6 separate regions of the Homo sapiens genome follow, and regions 2, 3, 4, 5 and 6 are each linked to region 1. Evidence: promoter capture Hi-C in 16 types of primary human blood cells and fetal thymus (Javierre and others, 2016). All regions are on one chromosome and are shown on one strand. Each heading gives the region's core, a stretch centred on a gene start or on the middle of the fragment in contact. The rest is flanking DNA. Distances are from core to core; before and after follow the strand shown.

Region 1 (3,930 bases), core at 703-3,202:
TGGCGTTAATTTGCCCTCTGGACCTTTCAGCAGCTCATGAACCTCGCTGACCTCGGGCTGCAGCGGCGAGACCCTCGAGCAAGGAACGCGACTATGAGTGAGAGGCGGGGACTGGAGCCGGGGAAGAGCTCGGGGCTGGGGGCGGGGGGGCCGTTAGCCTGCTCTAAAAAGCTTAAGAGATGTGCGAGCACCCAGGGTAGCAGTGGCTGAAGCAGCTTCCGAATCCCGAACCCCAGCGCTGCAAGGTTTCCGGGCAACCCCACTTAACTGGGAGCAGGTCAAAGTCATGGAGCTAAGTCTAGGGAGGATGGAGGAGTGGATATCTGCCTAAATCGCTTTTATCCCGTCATTTTCTTCCTTCCTTCTCTTTACTCTTCCTTTCCTTTTTCTCCCTTCCTTTCCTGTCTCCTTCCACATTATTGTCTCTCTCCTTTAGGAGCTTAGTTTCCGATGCCTGTGGATCCTTCCCTGATTTCTGGGACCAGAGGTGGTGCGAGGTTTTCTTGAGGGCACTGGCCACGCTGCAGATCAACGCCGGTGGCAAGAAGGGGCCGCAAGGGTTTCCGCAGACACCCACACATGCAGGCGTTCCCACAGAGGGTACCAGGGATTTCCCAGACCCCCACCAGCCCTCAGGAATAGCGTAGAGAGAGGAACGTCGCCTGGCTGAGAAAGGTGGATGGGCATACCCATGTACCTTTGTGTATTAAGTACCCACAACCTCCGAACTTAGCCGTCCCTGTCCCGGCCCGCCCAACTGCTGCCGCCGCATCTGCAGAAACCACTCGTGTTGAGGCCTCGGAGCAGCCGGGAGCACCACGCTGGAGCAAAAAAGCCGGAGGGCGCAGGGCTCCAGCCCGGCTGACCATCCCACCCAGCGCAGGGACCAACGGAAAACCCGCGCGGCGCCAGGACCAGGGGGCTGCCCGACGCCGCTCGCGGACTAGTTCCTCAGACTGTGGGACTCCCTAGTGCCGGCTTTGCCCAGGGCTTTCCAAGGCTGTCTCATGCCCTAGATCTGCCCCAGCAGCTCAGGCCTTGGACTGCGAACCCAGTATCCCGAGACACCGATTCCATCAGTCCCCATCCCGACCCCTCTCCAGCCGGGTTCATCCGCCTGCTGCCTCCCGTCCTCCACGTTTCCCCCACCAGCCACCAACAAGCGGCAACCACGCTGCCTTCTGCAAAAGAGGAAGAAGGAAAGAAGGGAGAGAGAAAGAAAGGGGGGGAAAGGAAGGGAGGTTTAGAGACTGGAATAGAATCCGCAGCCACATTCAGAAACTTACTCGAGCTTGAGAAAAACAATTTAAGAAAAGTAAAAAGGAAGTGTCCAGAGCAGGAAGGGAATTCACAAATGTAGCCTCCAGCGGGAACAGCTCCCTGGCTGCCGAGCTCCAGCGGGAGGGGAGTCGAGCGTTTTCTTTGCCACTTACCTAGTCCCCTGTCTACAAAGCTGGTGATCGTATTAGCCGACTTGGAAGACTGGAAAAAGCTGGCATTGATGCCCAGCTTCTCAGCGATGGAGTAAGTCCTGTAGATTGACAGCATGTACTCGTGGGGCACCACGCGCGGACCCCTGCCTGGCGGCTCCTGCGCCCGGGGCTGCTGAGCCCGGGGTTCGTCCTGAGGCCGCGGCTGTGGTTCCTGGCCCTCCCGGCCCGCGTCACTGTCGCGCGGCGCCCGCTGCATCTTGCCTTCCTTGCGGCTTCGCATGCCCTTGGTGGAACCCAGCTCGGCGGACGACGAGGAGGATGAGATGGAAGCCTGCTGGAAACCGGGCAAATCCCACAGAAAACTGATGAGGAAGACGGCCGAGAGCAGGACCCTGGGAGTATCCATGGCGGGCAAGTGGCTGCGTCTCCCCAGGAGGCGGTGGCGGCGGCGCAGGACGCGCGGGGCACGGAGCGGCTGGACAGCGGCCGGGGCCCGGCTCCTCGGGCGGACTCGGAGTGCGAGGAGCCGGGTCCCAGCCACACAAACCCCGGCCCCGCCACGCCCCCTCCCGCCCCTCGCCGGGAGGGGAGGAATGGGGAGGGAGGGCAGAGGAGGGGTGGGGAGGGTGGGAGGAGAGCCGGGTGGTGCGGGCCGGAGGTGTGGGGGAGAGGGGCCGCGGTGCGCCGGTGTGGCAGGAAGACGCAGCGCCCCCGCGGGACGCGCGCGGGGTTGCCGGGCGGTGCGCGCGGCGCGGGCCGCAAGCGCTGACCGGGGGAAGGCGGGCGCTGCCGGCCCGTGGCCGGGGAGCAAAGGCTGGCCCGCCGCGCCAGGGTCCCCCTCGAACTCCCGGAGGTGTGGTCCCTCCGCAGCGCGGCCCCGGCTCTCGGTCCTCGCCAGCCGCCTCCACTTTCCTGGGAGCGAGCGGCCCCGGAGGAGGGAAGCGGCGGCGGCGCCCCCAAGAGACAGCTTGGAGCAGGCGCCTCTGCTGCAGGCTGCGTGCTGCCTCGGGGCGGTGGTACCCTCCCTCCTCGGCCCCAACCGCCAGGCCTGCCGTTTGCGCCCCTCAGGGGCCAGCCCGGAGCCAGAGAAGCCTCGCCCTGGGCCAGGCGCAGGGCCCAGCTCGGAACAGCCCCATTTTCTCGGTTGGGTATCGCTCTCCACAAAGACAGGCGTCTATTCCCGACCCTCGAGGTCAGGCAAAGGCCACGAGTCTTTAGAGTTTGGATCGATGCTAAAAGCTGCTGCGCTCCCCTGCAGGCCCCAGCCTCTCCTCTCGCAGTCCCCAACCTCTTCTGACGCAGACTTTAGCTGCTCCACTTCTTCGTCTGCTCCCGGGATCCTCTCCCTCTCGCGGCCTGCCCCCCGCCTCCACTGCATCCCCATTTTCCCTCTCTTCTTTCCCTCCCGCCTGCAGGACTTCCTCCTTCCCCAAGTTCCTTCTGCATTCCAATCCCTCTTCCCCAGCCTGCTTTTCTTCTCACACTGCCCTCCCATCTCACACTGCCTTCCCACCCTCTCTCTTCCCGGCCTCCCCCCTCGCCTTCCAGTGGACCCCTCCCTTTGCAGCTCTACCCCAATCTGTTTCTCTTCAGCCCAGCCTCGCCCCATCACGAGTTTCCTTTATCTGTCCCCAGATTCCCCGTGCCTGTCTTCCCCGCCCACTGCCTCGCTCATTCCTGGGCCTGCACGCTGAAAGGCGATGCGGCGTAGCGCTGCTTCTGTCTGCCACAGTGCTCTGCCCTGGACTGCTATGGGCAGAAGAGTTTCCCTCAGTACTGATTGGGTGCTCAGGCACCAACCATAAAGTACCCTCCTTTAATCGTGCCAACAGCTTTGTGAGGTTGGCGTTGACTATTTTCACCTTCACGGATGGAAAAAAAAAAGACTCAATGGAAATAAGTGACTTTTCCAAGGCCACTCTGCCAAGAGGTTATGCAGCAAGGGACAGAACCCAGGCTCCCACCCCAAGCCCAAGATTCTTCCCACTACAGCATAGACAGTCATTCCTGGCCCAACTTCTCTATTTCAGTTCTGGCTTTTTTCTTCTCTTTATGGTTTCACTTGATCTCAGGTGGCTTCTTTCTCCGCCATGCTACTTTCTGTGTGTGTTCCCAGTCTCTCCAATCTCCTCCCTCTCACTTTCTAACCCCTTCTTCCTTTTGCTTTTTCATCACCTCTTCTGTCCTGCAGGGACCACTCACATGACAGCCTGCAGGGGGAGGGAGTTTTGCTGCGCTGCTCCCCTCATCCTTTAACTTCCTTAAGGTCTGGGATATGCCCTCCACCCTGGACACTGGCCTCCTCCAGGTAATGGCAAGCACCCACAGAGAACTTGTGTGTCAGTCATGGTTTGAAGCCCTTCGCCAATATTATTTTACTTAATCTTCACAGCAATCCTGAAATAAGTGCTGTATTATTCCTATTTTACAGATAGGGAAAGTGAGGCCCAGGGTCACACTACTCCAGAGTCTGGGCTCTTAATCACTGGGCTATTGA
Region 2 (3,930 bases), core at 1,053-3,552, 880 kb before region 1:
TTTTTTGAGACAGGGTTTCACTCTGTTGTCCACGCTGGGGTACAGTGGCATGATCATGCCTTACCGCAACTTCTACCTCCTGGGCTCAAGCCATCCTCCCACTTCAGCCTCCCAGTAGTGTGGACTACAGGCACACACCACCATGCTCAGCTAATTTTTATATTTTTTGTAGAAGTGGGGTTTCACCATGTTGCCCAGGTTATGTCTAGTGGCCATAAAATTGATGCTATGAATTTAATGTCAGATTGCCATATATTGGAATCCTTTCATTCCTGCCATTGACATATTAATACAAATATCTCTCATGCTCTGTTCTCAACTTCTTCAACTCTGATAGCTTGTGCCACTCTACTGTACTCACATCTCTCCAGATTAGTGACTGTGTTTTGACCTCATATTATGTATGAGGACACAAACTTCTGAAGGACAGGGACTATAACTGATGCACATTTATTTCTCCTATAGGGAGGGAGAAGTATAGCTTTTGAGAACATCTAAATTGAGAGCCCATTATGATACCATTTTTTTTTGTTGTTGTGGGGGAGGTAAGAGATCCTTGTTGTATTCTAACAATGAGGCTGAGTCTCAGACATGAGTCTGAACCCTGTAGGGATAGTAAATTCTTCCTTTTCCCAGTTCTCCTTTCTTACTAATATGGGTACAGAATGGTCTGTTCAAGTCACAGAAGCTCTTGGCTGAAGAAGGAGTCTCCCTGAGCACACAGGGAGATCTTAGTTCCAGAGAGGGTATGGGGGCTACAGAAAGGGCCAGAACAGATGGCACACTCCGTACCCCAGAGCTAGGGCTAGTGTGTGCCTGGTCTGTGAAGGGAAGGAACTAGTGATTCCAGGTCCTTGGACAGATTCCTTCCGCAGCAAGAGCAGCATATTTTCTGACCCTTTGTGTTTTTCCTTTTGAAACTGACATTATCTCTAATTATATGTGGTCAGATTGTAGAAGACATTTATCATCTATTGCCAAAACATCACCCACTGCTTTGCCAGTTCCTGTTTGCCCAGCCTGGCTGTGGCTGTTGAAATATCCCATCTGCAAGGTGAACCCAATTCCTAGCTAACCCAAGACTTGCTCCTCCCCATCATGGTTAGATCTGGAATTGGTCTGGATGGCCTAGGTCTGGTACGCATTGAGCAAAATGCCACACTGCTGTCTTCTCCATGAACCCTTGTGGATGGGCTTCTACTCAACTTCTAGATTGAATTCCATTTCTGTTCTTGGGCTGAAATTTTGTCCAAACCCCAAAGCGTTGTCCAGGGCTGTAGGAGTCTTCTAGGGCTGCCGTAACAAATCACCACTTAAAACAGTAGAAGTTTATTCTCTGAGTTCTGGAGGCCAGAAGTCTGAGATCAAGTTATGGGCAGTACTATACTCCCTTTGTAGGCTCTAAAGGAGAATCTGCTCCATGCTGCTTCCAGCTTCTGGTGGCTATTGGGATTCCTTGGCATTCTGTAGCTTGTAGCCACATCAGTATAATCTCTGCCTTTGTCTTCCCATTGCCTTCTCCTCTGTGTTTATTCTATAAGGATACAGGTGATTGCATTTAGGGCCTACCCAGATTATTCAGGATAAGTGCCTCTTTTTCAGATCCTTAACTCAATCACATCTGCAAAGATTCTTTTTCCAAATAAGGTCACATTTTTAGGTTCCAGGGATTCGATGTGATTTGATATCATTTTGGGGGCCATTTTTCAGCCTAGTACAAGGGCCCTGACAAACTCCTGGCTTGTGCTGACCCCTGTTTTTGGGGGATCAGCCCCTTATCTCTTTTGGTCCTGGCCAAGGGTATGTTTTAACATGAATGAGTCTGTCTGGAATCAAATTGTTAACCACTTGACTATGACTATCTCCACAGTCATATCTTTCTAGGCCTCCATTTCTAGGCCCTTGGGTATAAGTGCCAGCCTGGATCAGATTAAGCTTGCCTTTAAATACTGTGATGTAGTCTGATGGACAAATAAGCCCAAGCTCAGGTCAGTTCTTTTAGCTTGAGCCATACTGGAATGGCTTCCATCTCCTTGTCATCCTGGTATCGAGGTCTCTGCATGCCTCTTGGCAATGATGTGTTGGCTATAGTATCATCATGTGTATAACATATTTTTTTGCATACCTACCTTATTCTGAGCTCTTTATAGAACTTATTTTACTTAATCACTGTAGATCAGGAAACAGGGACAGAGAAAGGCATAGTGGCTCATGCCTGTAATCCCAGCACTTTGGGAGGCTGAGGCTGCCAGATCACTTGAGCTCAGGAGTTGGAAACCAGTCCGAGCAACACGGTGAAACTCTGTCTCTACTAAAAAAATACAAAAATTGCTGGGTGTGGTGGCGTGTACCTGTGGTCCCAGCTACTAGGAAGGCCGAGGTGGGAGGATCACTTGAATCCAGGAGATTGAGGTTGCAGTGCGCCAAGATTGCGCCACTACACTCCAGCCTGGGTGACAGAGCAAGACCCTATCTCAAAAAAAAAAAAAAAAAAAAGGAAGTAAGGACAGAGAGGTAAAGTTATTAGTCCAAGGTCATATAACCTGGGTCTAACTGTAAAATTCATGTTCATTTTACCATGCTGTACTATATTTTACATGCTTTATTATCTATCTTATTGTTGTCTCTCCTTCTCATTAAAACAAAACAAAACTGAGACTAGGAGAGGAATAAGCTTTATTTGATTTTCTAATTACTTGTGAGGACTTGGCAGACAAATTTTCTCAACCAGACAACTTAATTCTTAAATTTTTGTTTGGGGGATCTTTCCAGTTCAAGGTCTGTTATTGCATATAAGTTTGTAATCCTCTTGCCAGTTTCATTATTCTACATTTATTGCCATGTTTTGTGTAACATGTGTCTGTATACTGTTAACATTTTCCAGTAACCATCCTACATACACAGAAAAGAGACATGAGTGTAAAGGAAAAGGCCAGCAAGTTCAGTCAGCCAGGAAAAGTTTATAAGTCTGTATTTCAAGGAAGGAGTCATGTGCTGAATTTGCACACTGGCCTGTGACTGAAATCCAGATCAATATCCATGCTCTAAGTACAGTATGACTAAAACTCTTAGAACCGAAAGCTATTTAAGTCCCTTGGTCTTTCTAGCGTAAGTTAGGAAATGTTTCCTCCTCTTCAATATTTTGGAAAGGTTTGAGCAGAATTGGTATTAGTTTGCCTTTAAATGTTTGGTAGAATTCACAAGTGAAGCCCTCAAGTGCAGGGCTTTTCTTTGTCAGGAGATTTTGGATTACTGATTCAATCTCCTTACTACTTATAGGTCTGTTCGGATTTTCTATTTCTTCATGATCTTGTCTTGGTAGGTTTTGTGTTTCTAGGAATTTTTCCATTTCTTCTAGGCTATTCAATTTGTTGGCATATAATTGTTCATAGTGCTCTCTTATAATCCTTTTTATTTCTGTAGAATCGGTAGTAATGTCCCCACTTTTATTTCTGATTTTAGTAATTTGAATCTTCTGTCTTTTCTTTCTTGTTCTGTCTAGCTAAAGCTTTGTCAATCTTGTCTGTCTTTTCAAAAAGCTAACTTCACATTTTATTGATTTTCTCTTGATTTTCTATTCTCTATTTCACTTATCTTTGCTCCAATCTTTATTATTTCCTTCCTTTTGCTAGTTTTGGGTTTAGTTTTCTCTTCTTTTTCTAGTTCATTAAGTTGAAACTTAGGTTGTAGATTTGAGATCTTTCTTGTTTTTTACTGCAGGTGTTTACAGCCATATATGTCTCCCCTAGCACTTCTTTCACTGTGTTATATGTTTTGGTATGTTGTTTTCATTTTCATTAGTCTCTAAGTATTTTCTAATTTCCCTTGTGATTTGTTTTTTGATCCATTGGTTGGTTGTTTAAGAGTGTGTTGTTTGATTTCCAAAAATTTGTGAAATTTTCAGTTACTTCGGTATTGATTTCTAACTTT
Region 3 (3,930 bases), core at 1-2,500, 860 kb before region 1:
TATTCATTCAAACTATGAGGGTATTTTGTAAATGTGACTAAAGTCCATAGCAGTTGACTTTAAGTAAGGGATAATTATCCTGAATAATCCGAGTTGATTCAATCAATTGAAGGGGCTTAAAAGCAGGCTGAGGTATCCCTGAGAGTGGAAGGAATTCTGCCTGGGGACAGCACCTTCAGCCTTTGCCTGAGAGCTGCAACCTGTCCTGGGTGATGGCCTGCCCTTTGGATTTAAGACTTGCTTAGCCAGTCCCACAATCTTGTAAGCTAATTCCTTGGAACACATCTCTTACTAAGATCTCCTACTGGTTCTGTTTCTCTGGTAGAACCCCACCTGATACAGCGATTGCCTGGGATCTCTGTTAAAGGGCTGAACAGCTGGGGAGGAACTGTGAGGCAGTAGAGTGTTTATCAGCGTTCCTTAAATTTTAATGAGATATCAATCACCTGGGGGTGAGGCAGGAGAACAGGGAATTAGGGTAACCAAGGGTTAAGGTATACGGAAAGAACAGCAGGTGCAGCGAGTTCTAGGCAAGATTAGGCAGCAAACAGGCCACATCCTTGCTCCTCTGATAACAAGACAGAAGTTTCCACTTCAGCCTCTAATTGGTCACAGGCCAATCCTTCATAGGGTGTAACCAATTGGAGGCCTCTAAAGTGCATCTAGGGGAGTTATTAAACTTTTGTAACTTAATAAAAAGCCTAATTGTTGTTGGTGGGGGGGGGTGCTCTTGTGCTGCTTCACTTGCTGGAGTCTGCTCCCACTCTGTGAATTGTAGCTTCGCTTCAATAAATCTGTGCGTTCGTTACTTTTTGTTGTTGTTTGTCTTTCATTGTTTCATTCTTTTGTTGCTTTGTTTGTGCATTTTATTCCGTTCTTTGTTCAACATGCCAAGAACCTGGACAACTCAGTCAAGACCTTCCATCCGGTAATAGGGTCTGAGTGGACTCAGGTGGTGTTGATGCTGCCAGTATGCTTTGATTGGCAAGACTATATCTAGTAGTTCTCAAATCAGCCTGCACATTTGAATTATCTGGAGAGCTTTTAAAAAACACTGGTGTCTAGGGCTCACCTCTAATGATTATGACTTCATTGGCCTATTTAAAGTGTAGTGAAAAGTACAGAAGCAAGAGTGTAGGTGAGTGGTTCTCAAAGTGTGGTCCCTAGACCAATAACATTGGCATCACCTGGGAACTTGTTAGAAATGCAAATAATCAGATCTTATACCTACTGACTCAAACTCTGGGATTGAATCCCAGCCATCTGATTCCCTCCAGGTGATTCTGATGTCCACTGAAATTTGGGAACCACTGGTGTAGGAAGATTTTGAGTCTGTACTCAGACTCCTTAGGCAAGCAGCCTAAGCTCTCTTTGGCAGACTTTCGTGTCTGTAAAATGGGGATAACAATAGAAGCATGTTATGGGGGTGTTTGAGTTTGATCAGGGAGTTGACACCAACTATGGGGAAAAGCTGAGGTTCCCGTGCTACGAGAGCATGGGTAAGTCTTTAATCTGGAGGGCCTGAAGACAGAAGCAAGATTTATAGTAAGCAAGACAAGAGTGAGAGGGAATGGTTTGGGATCAACTGGGAAGATGGGGTGCCCTGAGAACTTGCCTTGGTGGGCCGTGGGGGCTTGACTCAGCACCTTTATCAGTGCAGCCTAGGTGAGGACAGGCGGGGCTACCAGGATGAAATTCTAAAGAACCAAAGTCTGAAGGGTGATGTCTTTCTCTGAGGCCGTGGAAGAACTTGCCGATGGAGGGACCACAGAGGGATCTATGGGAGAACAACGGCAACTGCAGGAGAGGTAAGAAGACCTTCAAATATCAGTGGGCAAGAGTTGGGGCTGATAGCTAGAGGATAGGGCCAGGGTTCAGAACTCTGAGGCTGAGGGAAAGAATCAGGATCTGATGGGGGAGAAGAGGTGGGGGGTGTGATGGGGAGGTGTGCTGGAAGCCTAGGTGTTGTGCTGAACCCCTATTAACCTCAATAGAGAAGGCACCAAGTTCAAGAGGCCAAAGAAGAGACCTAGAGCTAGCAAATGTGACTTGGGGGTTTTACTGGGACTTACTTACAGGGGAGAGGGTCCAGTGGTGGCGAGCTGGACACCTTACCTATAGAAACAATCCAGTGGTGGTGGGCTGGACAATATAACCACTGTACGTATGGTCCAGTGGCAGCAGGCTGGGCAGGAAAACCACAATTGCTTGCAAACAGCATTCAGTTTATACAGCATTTTCATTTAACACCCTCTCCTTAATGATCTCCACCTGGTAGCTTTCATGTACCGCACTCCCCACCCCCAAACTCAGGGCCTCCATCCCCCATAGGGCCAATGTTCCACGGGACGGCCTGAGGGCTCAGATGTTCCTAACAGACAAGGAATGAATCTCCGGGTTGGTGACTTACGGATTCCCTATCTCGGAACACATTCGGGTGCGTCTGCCATATGAGGTTGTTCTCAGAGTATGCTTGTGATTTCTCTCAGGTGTGCTTACAATGCACTAGGAAGTCAGCTCGTTTGGGGTTTGCTCTTGGGGGCCGACAGGAGGAAAATGCCTGGGCCCAGGTTTAAGGACTCCTATGAAGCAGACAAACCCACCATTCCAAACTCTAGCCCTTCTCAGGCTTATCTCGGGCCAGAGCTATTCCAAGGTCCCAGGCAAAGCCAGGACTGGAACCCTTGTCTGCTTATCTAAGGCTAGTGGTGGAAGGGTGGGGATGGAGGCAACTGCAGTGAATCCTGCACCCCCACTTCCTAGGCCTCCCAACCTCCCCAGCATTTTTGAAGTTCCAAACATGTTTCTGGGTTCTCTATCTTGGTCCCCAAGCGACCTTGGCCTTAAACACATCGTGAGTCTTTAGTGCTCTGCTCAGAACTCAAAAGGTTGGTGTAACTAAGATAGAAATGCTGTGTCTACAGCCGTTGCTGTGAAATGGGAATGGAAAGGGCTGCCAGGAAGTGAAGTCTAGTCTCTCTCAATGTGTGAGGTGCAAAAAGAAAAGCTGCTGTTCTGTCTCTGAGACCTTGGATCTCTAGGAGGAGGGATGAGAGTTAAACTTCCTTTACATTTTTTCACTTTGCTATATTACTGCCTTGGACTGTTTCTACTTTTCTTCTGCTTCTATCTTCCCTTCTTTTGATGAAAGAGAAGGGGGAACTGGGCAATAATCTGATTTAATGAAACCTGCCATGCTATTTGAGAAAAACTGAAAGCTTTGTTTTAGGTTAAAATGAAAAATTGTATATAATGTAAAATTAGTAAAACAGACATGTTAGGGGAGCACGTGCTGGGATTTGTTAGAATGAAAGTACCCTGTCTCAGCTTTGAGGAACCACCGCAGCCTACTGTGGGTTGTGGGTTATGGACAAAGGCGGCACACAGGATGTCACATATGCCTGTGCAGTGAAATTATCGAGAGACTGGATGGGCAGGATTAGAGGTCAAGAGCTTGACCAGGTAAAAGGGATCTTCTAGTTCTCTTTAGATAGTTGAAGCTGACCGCTTCTCAAGGAAAAATGTGTTTTAGGGTATTCAAGAAAGCACAAGAAAATCAATATTTTTAGGCTAGTTTTAAAGGGGTATTTATTGGCTGGTGGGTTAGGCATCTAATAGTTAACCAGTAGGTTACATTTATGGATTAGTAGCTAGGAAATAAAACATGAGATTCTTTGTGTCTTAGTTTATTCAGGCTGCTGTAACAAACTACTATAGACTGGGTGGCTTAGAAACGACAGAAATTTCTTATTTCTCAGGAAACTGAGAAGTCCAAGATCAATGCAGTGGCAGATTTGGTGTCTGGTGGAGGCCCATTTCCTGGTTCATGGATGGATGGTCTTGCTGTAACTCCACATGGCAGGAGGGACAAGAGATCTCACTTAGGACTCTTTTATAAAGGCAATAATCCCATTATAAGGGACCTAATCA
Region 4 (3,930 bases), core at 1,034-3,533, 840 kb before region 1:
GTTTTGAATCTGCCTGCTGTTCCAGACATGGGGACAATGACAAATTATATTAAGCCAGGCCCTTCTTCCAAGGATCCCCAAGTTAGAAGTCTGTGTGGAGCCTGGCAGAGGGAAATGTACATTAAACTCTCCCAAGGATAAGGCTGTTCTCGAACAATCCACCCCATGCCACATTTATACCTGAAGAGTCACCAACCAGGTTGGAGAAAGGTGCATATGAATGTGGCTCTGAAAAACTTTTGCTTCATGCTCATTTCATTTTTTATTCTGCCCCAGTAGTCCCCTCTGCACCTGGGAATCACTCAGTATGAAGTAAACCATAGCACTTTCCAGAACTGTTTTTGTGTTTTTTCAACTGCAGATGTCCGGGAAACAGTAAACTCTTGTTTTGAAGCTTTTTAAAAATTGAGCTTTTGATTCCAAGCAACTGAAAATGGTTCCTGTTTATGTTTCTTATTGGTGATAGTTTAACTAGCTAGATTTTGTTTTTTCTGGATTATGGTTTTTTTTTTTTTTTTTTTTAATAGTTTTCCTTTAGGAGTTTACCAGTCCCTGGAGCTCATTGGTAGCAGAGGAAAAAAGTGTCCGGAGAAATTGAATTTCTTTTATGTCCACAGAAAAAGTGGCCAGCTGCCATTATAGGATAAACCTAGGGCTTTCTTCCCAGGGGCTCATGGATTAGTAAAATCTGAGCAATGGTACTGCCCTTTTTTTGGTAAGGCTAGAATATATACTTTGGAAAGTGTCTATAAAATTAAGTCAATATAACCACTTATTTCTGGCATTTGTTATGGGATAATTATCCTAATAGTTCTTTAGTCTTGTAATTTAGTAAAATGGATATTTTCCTTACTCTTGAGTTGCTTGGGCAAGCATGACTAATAGTTACCGAAGTGTAGATCGTTTATTAACATGTCTAAATCCTTCTTTTTAAGTCAGCCTAACAGGTAGTTGTTACCATCATGCAGCATTTTCACCAGTTCTTCCCATACCTAACAATTAAAATTGCCCACATGTGATTGAGAATTCATTGTGTGTACATTTCTGGGTTCCAGGATGGGGCCTGAATGAGGGATGTGATAAAGGAAGTATTTACAGATAAAGCATGCATATTTGTAGTTAGTTTAGACTATAGATAATGCAGATTATGTGGAAATCAAAGTGGAGACAGAGTTGGTTTTGTCAGGGCATGTTTCTTAGAGGGGAGTTTATGGAGTTGTTGGTGGGAAGTGCTAATTCCAGGCTGGAAGATGGCTGAGAAGAAATGCGAATGGAAAAGCCAGGTAGGTGAGAAAACTAATTATTGTTGAGCAGTCATACGTGCCTGACACTGTGCTAGTGCTTTACCACTGTCTTCAAAAATTAAATCTCCTTTATTAATTTACAATGTGGTAGGAATTTTTTGCTTTATTTGGGAGGAGGAAACTAAGACTAGGGTTATGCAAAGAATATTAGAGGTGATAGTAGAATTTAGGGTTACTTGACTCCAAATAATGAAAGTGAATAAGACTAACATAGGAGATACTTCCCTGGCTGCAAGGGAGGGGTCTTCATGGGGTGAATCAAGAGAAGAATTTGATTCCTTGGGACTGGGACAGTGAAGGCACATTTATATCTCATAGGAAAGACAACCTGAGGCTCCTGTAGCTCCTTGAGCAGGCTACTGACATGATAGGGAAGCACATTATATCTGTGATATTTATCCATGATGTTGAGAGTATCAGTAGTTTTTTCTTTATTGCCATGTCATAGTCTATGGATGATGAACACTTTGGTTGTGTCCAGTAATGACTTTCTACAATAAAGCTGCTAGTGACAATCTTATACAAGTCTTTTAGTGTTTGAAACCACTGATTTTTGTTTGAGATATTCCCAAGAGAAGAAAGACTATATCACAGGCATACACGTGTTTGGCTTTAGTAGGCACTGCCAGGCAAACATTTTCCCAAGCTGGTTGTACCTATTTACATTCTTATCAGCAGGGTAGAAGAGTTCCAGTCTGTTTAACTTTCATATCTTGTCTTCCTGGCATGACTTCGGATAGGAAATTATGCAACAAGGGACATACTGTTTCTTATCAGCCATATGGCCTGCACAGAGACTGTGGGTCACAGTGGTGTAAAAAAACACCAAACAACTTAATAATCAGAAGCTCACCAAGAATCAGATCCTCCACACTACAAAAAGGCTAAAGGAAACTGCAGGAAAGTCAAGATCTTCCAGATTCTGACAAAGGGAACAATATGACTCAAACCTTCCATGCGCTGTTTGAAAATGTTAGCCTGTTCCTTACCTTTTGACATCAGGATATTACTGAAAGGTAAACCAAATGACTGTACACCACTGAGCCAAAAACTCTGTTTAAATGATAGTCTGAGGCAAACAGATCTTTTTATTTGAGAACAATAAAATGGTTTTGTCTTCTTAGATGATCTAAAAAATTTTCTAAGCAACAACTGTAGCTCTTTGTTCTCAACTTTCTTGTAGGTTCAGGCAAAGGCCTGATAACTTTTTCTAGTTAGTTGTTGAACATGGATGTGATGGTTCTCCTTTCATGAAAGACAGCAACTGTGATGGTTAATTTAAGGTGTCAACTTGACTGGGTAAAATGATGCCCAGATAGCTGATAAAACATTATTTCTGGGTATGCCTGTGAGGGCGTTGCTAGAAGAGATTAGCATTTGAATCTGTGGACTGAGTAAAGAAGATCCATTCTCCCCAATGTGGGCAGCTATCATCCAATTCATTGAGTGCTTGAATAGAACAGAAAGGTGGAGAGTGGGCAAATTTACTCTTCTAGAGCCAGGACATCTATCGTCTCCTGCCCTTGGACATCGGAGCACCTTGTTCTCAGGCCTTTGGACTCCAGGGCTTACCCCAGTAGCCAACGCCAGCTCCCTATTCCCTCTGCTGCTGGTTCTCAGGCCTTTAGACTTGACCTGTGACCTGTATCATTAGCTTCTGTGGTTCTTAGGCTTTGGACTCAGATGAATTACACCAGTGATTTCCTGGTTCTCCAGCTTGCAGATGGCATATCATGAGACTTCTCCACCTCCGTAATTGTCTGAGCCAATTCCCATAATAAATCTCCACTTTTATCTATCTATCTCCTATTGCTTCCGTTTCTCTGGAAGAATGCTGGCTAACACAAAGATGTAGTAAAAAGCACATGAGCACATTGAGAGGCTGAGGCAGGTGGATCATGAGGTCAGGAGTTCAAGACCAGCCTGGCCAAGATGGTGAAACCCAGTCTCTACTAAAAATACAAAAATTAGGCAGGCGTGGTGGCGGATGCCTGTAATCCCAGCTACTCGGGAGGCTGAGGCAGAGAATTGCTTGAACCCGGGAGATGGAGATTGCAGTGAGCCAAGATCATGCCACTGCACTCCAGCCTGGATGACAGAATGAGACTCCAACTCAAAAAAAAAAAAAAAAAAAAAAAAAAAAAAGCACATGCTATGCTTTTCAAATCTCATCTTAAGACACATCTGTGCTATGTGATTCTAATTAAATGCCTCTCTGGGCTTGTTTGCTTATCTGTAATGTGGCAATGACAGTATCTCCCTCTCTCTGGGTTATAAGGATGATGTGTGTGAAATATAGGTCCAGAGAAGACATGTGGATTGGACATAAAAAATATATCAGCCTCTTTTTGCTTTGATTTCTTGGTGGCAATGGTTGATGTTAACATTGGCTTTGGAGTCTGACCTGAGTGGGAACCTGGAACTTGGCTCTGCCATGAACTGGCTGTTTGACCAGGACAAGTTATTTAATGTTACTGGGTCTCAGGTTCTTCACGGTAAGATGTCAATGATAATATTGCCCACATTATACAGTTATAATAAGGATTAAATGTGATAATATACGTAAAGCAAACTAGTTAGAGGCCGCTACGTAATAGTGACTCAATACATTTGTTTCCTTTTACAT
Region 5 (3,930 bases), core at 841-3,340, 820 kb before region 1:
ATAAGCATCCAAAAATATGTTTATGGATCTATTTGCCAACATGTTGATCAGCAAGTGGGGTCTTAAGTGAACAAGAGAGTGGACAGATAAGTTTTAAGAGGGAGTAAGAGACAGAAGAGGTTTGGAGGATAGGATACTTCAGGGAGGGAAGACCAGAGTGTGCTACATGAGTGGTGGAGGGAGAATATTTGTCAACAGAAGGTTAGGATGAGGGCACTGGGTAACTGAGAGATAATACAGAAAGAGGGTGCTAGCTGGGAGGGTGGGGAATACCACAGAGACAAGTTTCTTCTTTCCCCTTCTTTTTGATCCCTTGGAGGGGCTGACCATCATCATCACATGGCAAAACATCCTGGATCCCAGATCTGGCTCTGTCATTCAGCCCTTGAGTAACACTGGGGCAGTGACTTTGCTTTTCTGGGCTTCAGTTTCTCCAACTGTAAAACACAAGGGGTGTATGAGACCACTAGTTTTCTGTGTTATTTGGGTACTTGGGAGTCTTGTGGATGTGATTCAAGGGTATCACTGCAGGCATGGGGGTGAGTAGCAAGCAGGCATTTTCTGCCCTGCTCCCCGCCTCACCCTGCAAAAAACAAATTAGCTCTGTGACGTCTGAATTTCTACAGAAAATTATTGTTTGAAGGTCAACGTCTATGTCTAAAGAAAATTTTAAAAAGCACTCAGCCTATACCATTTCTCAGGCTTTCTCTGGTTCTGACATTTTGGGAATCTGTGGTCAGTACCCAAAGCCTTCCAACCTCTAAAGAAACAGGGCCAGGATTTAAAGTCAGCTGTGATTCTATGATTCATACTCTTCTTCAGTCTAGGTGTCTGACCTGGGAATTCCCTCATGTGGCTCTTGGTTCTTTTGCAGGTGTGCTCTGCCTTGTCAGGGTGACTTAGGTGCTCATCTGGGCTATAAAACCCTCACTAAGAGCAGTGCTCGGCACAAGGCAGTCTGACGCCTGGTGAATGATCCATTACTTAAAAGCTCATCAAAGTTGCAGCACTTCTGAGGGGCAGGAAGCCCCAGTAAGGTACCTGGGACAGTTTACAGAACACCACCCTGATTATTTTATGGTAAAAATGTGGTAGGATTCTGGTTTTCAGCAATGAGAAGCAACTCACACACACACACACCCTTAAGTCTAAAAAAACAGCCATATATTGAGAGGTATCTGGATTTTTTTGAAGACTTTCAACCTCCCCCAGCTTTTTGCTTCTAGATCAATGTTTTTAATGGCTTTGGCAGCCTTAGTCCTATTAGTAAATTCCATTCAACCTGCAAATTAATTGTTCAGGAGCAAAATCAAGTTGAAGATGGGCTTTTAATCTGCCCTGCCTCAGCCCACTTCCATGTTTGTATACATTTGAAAGCTTAGCCTATCTCCCTTATTCTGGCTGTTTGAATAGCATAACCTTGGTGATGAATTCCAGATGCTGCACTACAGAGTGCTTCAGGGGCTTATACATTACAGTTCTCAGAAAATAAATGTATTTTTTTCCTTGTGATTAAAAGGCTAAACAGCAGGTCATGCGTACCTATGCATGCAAAAGGGTATTTATATTTTGGATCAGGTGAAATGCACCTGGGCGCTGTAAATATCACAGATCACTGTGATGTGATTGAATCTAAAAGTCGGCATGGCCTCTCTTCCTTTTCTTTTTTTAAATACCCTTTGAAAGCGAAAGTTCAGCAGGTCATTCTTTCCCATAATCAGCGACGAACTTAGATCATCAGAGTTGATGTGAGGTTTTCCTTTACATCTCAGAGGGGAACCTGAACTATCAGTGATTATTGAGAGGTCCTGTCGAATATATTACAGTAGGGATCACAATCTCAAAATTGCTCTGAAAGTCTGGAACCCACACCTTGGAGGGTCTGGACTTCCCTTAACATTGCTTTTCTAGTTACTGTGTTTGGGAGGTGGTTGGGATTGGGGGACTTTTCCCAAGACTTCACATTTCAGAGCAAAGGGAGCTCCACTGGAGAGATACTCCTGGCCTCCTTTCTTACTCCTTCAAGGTGGGAGAGCTTTGGAGAAGGAATGGGGCTGAGAGCCCAGCCAGGTCAGCCCTCTCTCTGGGAGCCCAAGGCAGTAGCATCTTTCTCTACCTTTAGACTGGCAGGAAGCCTGGCAAGGCATGAACTCTTCCCAGACTGGAGCCTGGGGTTTTGGCATAAGCTCAATCCCGTGGAAAGTTATCATGTTTCTTGGCCAGTCTTGGCCATGACATACGTACATACACATGTGCACAATGTTTATTAATAATAAGGATGATACTGGGATCTCCATCTTGCTGAGTCCTTGACACTCTCTAACTTGGTTCAGAGCATGGATGAAGTAGGGGATCTTCTCTGACCCTAATAGTCATTAAAGTAATCATTCTCATGAAAAATTTGAAAATAGAGAAAAATGCAAAGAAGAGAAGTCATCCATAATTCTATTGGGATAACCCTTTTAACATTCTCTGTGTTAATCCTTTAAAACTTTCAGTCTCCTTTCTCTGTTTCCCCTTCCCTCTCTCTTCCTCTTGTACAAGTATAGGCAGGAAAACATACATAACATACATATATATTATGGCGATGTGTGAGTGCAAGTATATATATATGTTCATATACCACATACATTTATCACAAATTAAGGTCATGCAATATTCATAATTGCTATTGTTTAAATTCTTAGCATGTGCCTTATTGTATAATAAGTAATATAACCTCACAATAACTCCATAAAGTGGGTACTGTTTTAATCTAATTTTATAGATGAAGAAACTGATCACAGAAAGTTTAACTCCTTGCCCAAGCTTACACAGATAGTAAGTGGCAAAGGAACCTTTAAACTCAGTTTGAGTTTTAATCATCACGTGGTGTAGCATGTATACTACACTGTATAGTATGTTTTGTTTTGGAATCTGTTCTTTTTACTCAATACTTCATGAACAGTTTGTTCATGTCATTAAATATTCTTCTAAAATAGGATTTTAATAGTTGCACCGAATTTAAGTACAAGGATATGCATTGTATTTTATCTCTTACCTTACAGATTTGGTTTGGTGGTACATTTTCTCTACCATAAGCAACACAGCAATGAACATCCTTGAGCTGCACATTTTTGCTCATAACTCTGTTTATTTCTTTAGGCTAGGTGCTTAGACATTGAACTGCTGAGGCGAACAGTGTCTGCCTATTTTTCAAGCCTCTGATGCTCCCATCAAAGTCCTGACCACCAGCTCCCCCTTGCAGCTGCATGGATGCAGGGACAAAGAACTGGGAGGTCTCCGCATCTTGCCCATAGGGTGTATTGGTTGATCTGGAATGGTCTTTCTTTCTTGCTAGCTTGCTTTCTTGCCTTCTTTTTCTTTTTTCTTCCTTTTTTTCTTATCTTTTTTCCTTTCCTTTCCTTTTTTTTCCCTTTCCCTTCTCCTCTCTTCTCTCTCCTTTCTCCTTTCCTTTCCCCTTTCCTTGTCCCGTCCCCTCCCCTCCCCTCCCCTTTCTTCCCCTTTCCTCTCCTTTCCTCTCCTTTCTCCTTTCTTCTTTCCTTTCCTTTCATGACGGGGTTGCACCATGTTGCTCCAGCTGGTCTCAAACTCCTGAACTCAAGCTATCCTCCTGACTTGGCCTCCCAAAGTGCTGGGATTACAGGTGTGAGCTACCACACTGGCCTGGTTTTTCTTTTTAACTGCTATTTTAAAGCTTAGATTTACAATAATCTTTTGCCCTTGATGGAAGATCTTTGGTTAGTGTCCCTCAGAATATTTTTGGTTAGCAAGAATAAGAAGGATCATATCCTAATTTCTTGGCTCTTTACCGTGATGAATGCCCATCCTACCTCATCGTTGCAAGAGACTGAGGATCTCCTCAGTGACATGTCCCTGGTACCCCTCTCCTACCTGTGCCTCTGCTCTTCTGGTGGCCTCATGCACAAG
Region 6 (3,930 bases), core at 922-3,421, 530 kb before region 1:
TCACAGAGGCCTGCTTGGTCCAGTTTGAGAGAAAGGTTGTATTGCTACTATAGCCTCTTGGTCTAATTCCCTGAAAACTTCATTTTCTAGCTCAGGCCTTTTCTGATTAGTCTAGTTTCTCTTTTTAGACCTTCAGTCATACCTGGAGCATTCCATCTTCTACCCCCTAAATGTTGAGAGTCACATCTCATCTGCCTGAAGTCCCAGGTCTACTCAGGTCCCTTTAATTATAAAGTCCTTTTGAGCTAACTTTTGTCTTGATTCTTATCTTCTATTTTCCAAACTACTTTTTGGTTCATTTCCCTGCTTAGAGCTATTCCTAATAGTAGCTTGTCTGAGTTACCTATTTAACATTTACATGTGTAAGAATCCAATTGACATCTCAACATACACAGCACTGTAAAAAGGCATGTATGCAATTTGGGCATAAATAAGGCCATGGTTATTTTTCAAGAGTAATTCATGATAGAAAGATATGGCACATTTGAGGAAGTCATAGGTTTAGAAGTGAGATTTCAGAGCAGCAGTGAAGTAGATAGTATAGGAACACCAGAGATCCAGGTACAAACTCTTGGTTTGAAAAGCTTGGTTGAGGAGAAAGAGTGGGTTGGTAGTTGTCAGGGTTTTTAAGAACTTTTAGTTGCTGCAGTTGTTTACTTTTAAGTAGAGGCTGCTAAGAATAATGGATTGAGAGACAAGAGAGCATAGTGATTAAGAACTGGACCTCAGTGTACAGAAGTGGGTGTTTGGGACATGCTTCTTTTTTTCTTTTTTTACTTCAAGTCCTGGGATACATGTACAGATGGGGAACGATTCTTAACCAACCAAGTCCTTGCTACTCAAAGTGTGGTCTACAGACTAACATTCATTTGTAGCACCCGGAGCCTGTTAGAAATGCAGAATCCTGGTCTTTGCCTCAGGTCTGTGTATTTTGAAAAGATGCCTGGAGGATTCATGTGTGTATTATCATTCTAGTTCCCTCATCTTTAAAACAGGGACAATGGGCCAGGCGTGGTGGCTCACGCCTGTAATCCCAGCACTATGGGAGGCCGAGGCGGGCTGATCACAAGGTGAGGAGATCGAGACCATCCTGGCTAACACGGTGAAACCCTGTCTCTACCAAAAATACAAAAAATTAGCTGGGCGTGGTGGCAGGCGCCTGTAGTCCCAGCTACTGGGGATTCTGAGGCAGGAGAATGATGTGAACTGGGGAGGTGGAGCTTGCAGTGAGCCGAGATCGCACCACTGCACTCCAGCCTGGGAGGCAGAGTGAGACTCCGTCTCAAACAAAACAAAACAAAACAAACAAAAACAAGGGACAATGATGATACCTATGTTGTAGAGCAGTTGTGAGAATGCAATGGCATGATGCATGTCAGGCACATACTAGGTGCTCAATACATATTTGATTGTTGTTATTGCTATGATTGAAGATGCTGCAGAAAGAAAGCATAAGTTTGATAAAATAATTCCTTAGCAGGAAAGTAGGGATAAGTTTTGGATGTAGCCAGAAGAGCTAGCTTTAGGGAGAAGCAGAGCTGCTTTGCCACAGGGCCATCCGGGGCAGATGATCTCTCTCTAACAATTCTCCCGTCTTGGAGAGGGGTAATCTCTGAGCCCCAGCTCCCATCCCTCAGAATCTTTAGTTTTTCCAATTCTCTTCAAAAAGTATTAAAATTCTGAAAATTATGAAGACTATCTTTGAACACTCCTATAGAAAGTAGCTGTATTCACTAAAGACATTTAAGTGAATCCAGCAGTCGGGCCTTAGGATTAAATGTGGGTAGAGGTGCTGGTTTTTGACCTGGTATCCAATATTTGTTTGAATTTTACTTAAATTGGTGGCAACTTTTGAATGCATGGTTTTGTGAAGGAATAGACAGTAAAGATAATGTTATTTCTGTTGTTTCCATGACAACGGACATGCTTCATGGAATATATCCATCATGCATAGTCTTGAACCATCTGGTTTCTAAGTCCTTGGTGAAAACCCTCTAGGAATGAAGTGTAGGTAAACTTTAATCAGTTTTATAATTACTGTAGTCTTTGCAAAAATTATTTAACTTGATTTTGCAGCTGCTTCAACATAAGGCCCAGAGGTCTTATTAGGGTTTTTATTGCCACTTTTAAGGAGCAGTTTAAGAGTCATGATTGTGCTGTAGCTGCAGATGCCACTGTTTCTGTCTTTGGTTCTGAGACTAGGTTGTAGTGACATCACACAAAGATGGAGAAAGGGCAAAGTTATTTTTTCCAACTGGCTCTGTCAAATATAAAAATTAACCATACTTTGAGCTGGGTTTTATGTATTGGTAATGTATGTTTATGTTAGAGTTTCTGTCAAAACAGGGATTAAAGATAAATGTAGCTAATTAAAAGAACATTTGCTTAGAGCTCCTGGTAATAGATACCTCTTTGTGAGGTCCTGAGGTATGGCTTTCTTTAAGAACCGATGCAATTTGTGTGACTGAAGAAGAGAGGAGACTCGATTTTCTGAAAATAAAACACGAGTCTGAGAATTATCCAGAGTGAGCTCTAAGGAAATAAACGAAGTAATGGCTAGGTAAAGTTTGCTTATGTGGTGAGTTATATAAAACGTGTGTCTACCCTACTTCTGACCTTTCACACTACTAAATGATATTTCCCAACAAAGCCTTTGAAGTAAAGCAGTACCTTTTAGCTGGTACTAGATCAATCAACTTATTTCAAACTGAACTCTAGATGATTAAAAATAAAACAAAAACTTTCAGAATCAAATTAGGCAATTGTTGTCTTTTTTTCCTTAATTTTACCAGGCAGTTGAACTTTTTCTGCTAATGACTGCATTCCTGGCATCTGTGTTTTCTTGTTTCCCTGCAGTGAGGGGGAAAAATGTGGGAACCAAAGAATAGTTTTTCTTGCCTCCCATCGACCACCAAAGTCAACAGGATTAAGTTCCAAAAGACAATTCCTATGAACTAGAAGGCATCTTATAAAAGTGATAGCCTAATTTACCTCTCATAAACTCATTGGTCTTATAAGCTACATGTTTCCATGGTGCTTTGCAAAGGAACAATTGTAACTACCAATGAAGAAGTTTAAATGTTAGATATAGGATGTGGTAAAACTTCCAAATAAACCACAATGGTTACCAAATATTTTGATATTTGAAACTATTTTATATTTGAGAGGGTGAGGGACTATCAAAATGATCTAATTGTTGGAGTGATTCTGGAACTTATTTCTAACCTCTAATCGACATAACTTAAGAAGTGCCATTTCTAGAATTTAAATATTTATTAGCTTTAAACCCCTTGCCAGGGACCACCCCTGCTCCCCCAAACATACATATACCACAAAGAGCTACATAAAATAAAGAGCTATATAAAACTAGTGACTATATAAAGAGCTACACTCATTTTAATAAAATGTTCTTTGAAGATTAAGAGTTGCCAAGTTTCTGGATATAAAATTTAAGTTTTTGCCACTAGATTACTGAAAAGGGTTTATGTTAGAAACTTAATTGTGAATATAGTAATTCTACCACCAGAGGGCTCCGTTTTTTTTCTTGAATGTAGCCAGAGAGAAAGAAGAGATGAGTCTTGGTACTACATTTTTTTTCTCATTCCACCTGTCCAAGCCATAGACCATAGCTTAAAGGCAAAAATGTAGGTTTCCATTTTTCTGGTTTTAAAAATATATAGAAAAATATTTGCTTTTCGGTCTCTAGGGCAGTTTTATTTCCCCTATGGAGGTAAAGGGAAAAAAAATCAAAGCATCTTACAAGCTTCTATCATTGTGTGTGTGTGTGTGTGTGTGTGTGTGTGTGTGTGTGTGTGATGTTGAGATTCTTATTTCCTTGACAAATCTTGAGATCTCCTTAGAATCAGGAAAAGTGAAGAGGTTGAAGATAGTGCTTTTGGGTAATTTCTAATTTGCTATTAGTAATTTCAG

Evidence for each region. The method cuts DNA at HindIII sites, captures the fragments that hold promoters and counts their contacts. A CHiCAGO score of 5 or more calls a contact.
Region 2: a contact is called between a fragment that was not itself captured here and the fragment with the promoter of GDF6 in region 1, in 2 of 17 cell types (total CD8 T cells and endothelial precursors). The highest score is 5.3, in total CD8 T cells.
Region 3: a contact is called between a fragment that was not itself captured here and the fragment with the promoter of GDF6 in region 1, in 3 of 17 cell types (endothelial precursors, total CD8 T cells and naive CD8 T cells). The highest score is 7.8, in endothelial precursors.
Region 4: a fragment that was not itself captured here is called in contact with the fragment with the promoter of GDF6 in region 1 in 2 of 17 cell types (M0 macrophages and erythroblasts); the score reaches 5.4 in M0 macrophages.
Region 5: a fragment that was not itself captured here is called in contact with the fragment with the promoter of GDF6 in region 1 in 1 of 17 cell types (M1 macrophages); the score reaches 5.3 in M1 macrophages.
Region 6: a fragment that was not itself captured here is called in contact with the fragment with the promoter of GDF6 in region 1 in 1 of 17 cell types (M2 macrophages); the score reaches 5.6 in M2 macrophages.

Annotation. Positions count from the first base shown.
Region 1 is chr8:96,158,854-96,162,783 of GRCh38, forward strand. GDF6 (growth differentiation factor 6) reads right to left here and starts at 1,953. Exons shown (of 2, transcript NM_001001557.4): 1 at 1,434-1,953. The coding sequence starts at 1,839. The HindIII fragment of the contact is 9,891 bases long and covers 170-3,930 here.
Region 2 is chr8:95,275,723-95,279,652 of GRCh38, forward strand. The region is part of intron 1 of CFAP418-AS1 (CFAP418 antisense RNA 1); the gene reads left to right. Among named protein-coding and RNA genes, the nearest start is that of TRS-AGA2-5, 8.0 kb to the left of the region's middle. The HindIII fragment of the contact is 739 bases long and covers 1,934-2,672 here.
Region 3 is chr8:95,299,385-95,303,314 of GRCh38, forward strand. The region is part of intron 1 of CFAP418-AS1 (CFAP418 antisense RNA 1); the gene reads left to right. Among named protein-coding and RNA genes, the nearest start is that of TRS-AGA2-5, 32 kb to the left of the region's middle. The HindIII fragment of the contact is 3,932 bases long and covers 1-3,216 here.
Region 4 is chr8:95,315,659-95,319,588 of GRCh38, forward strand. The region is part of intron 1 of CFAP418-AS1 (CFAP418 antisense RNA 1); the gene reads left to right. Among named protein-coding and RNA genes, the nearest start is that of TRS-AGA2-5, 48 kb to the left of the region's middle. The HindIII fragment of the contact is 3,782 bases long and covers 393-3,930 here.
Region 5 is chr8:95,343,409-95,347,338 of GRCh38, forward strand. CFAP418-AS1 (CFAP418 antisense RNA 1) reads left to right here. Exons shown (of 4, transcript NR_038209.1): 2 at 875-1,037. Among named protein-coding and RNA genes, the nearest start is that of TRS-AGA2-5, 76 kb to the left of the region's middle. The HindIII fragment of the contact is 1,431 bases long and covers 1,376-2,806 here.
Region 6 is chr8:95,624,570-95,628,499 of GRCh38, forward strand. The region is part of intron 3 of CFAP418-AS1 (CFAP418 antisense RNA 1); the gene reads left to right. Among named protein-coding and RNA genes, the nearest start is that of TRS-AGA2-5, 360 kb to the left of the region's middle. The HindIII fragment of the contact is 3,179 bases long and covers 583-3,761 here.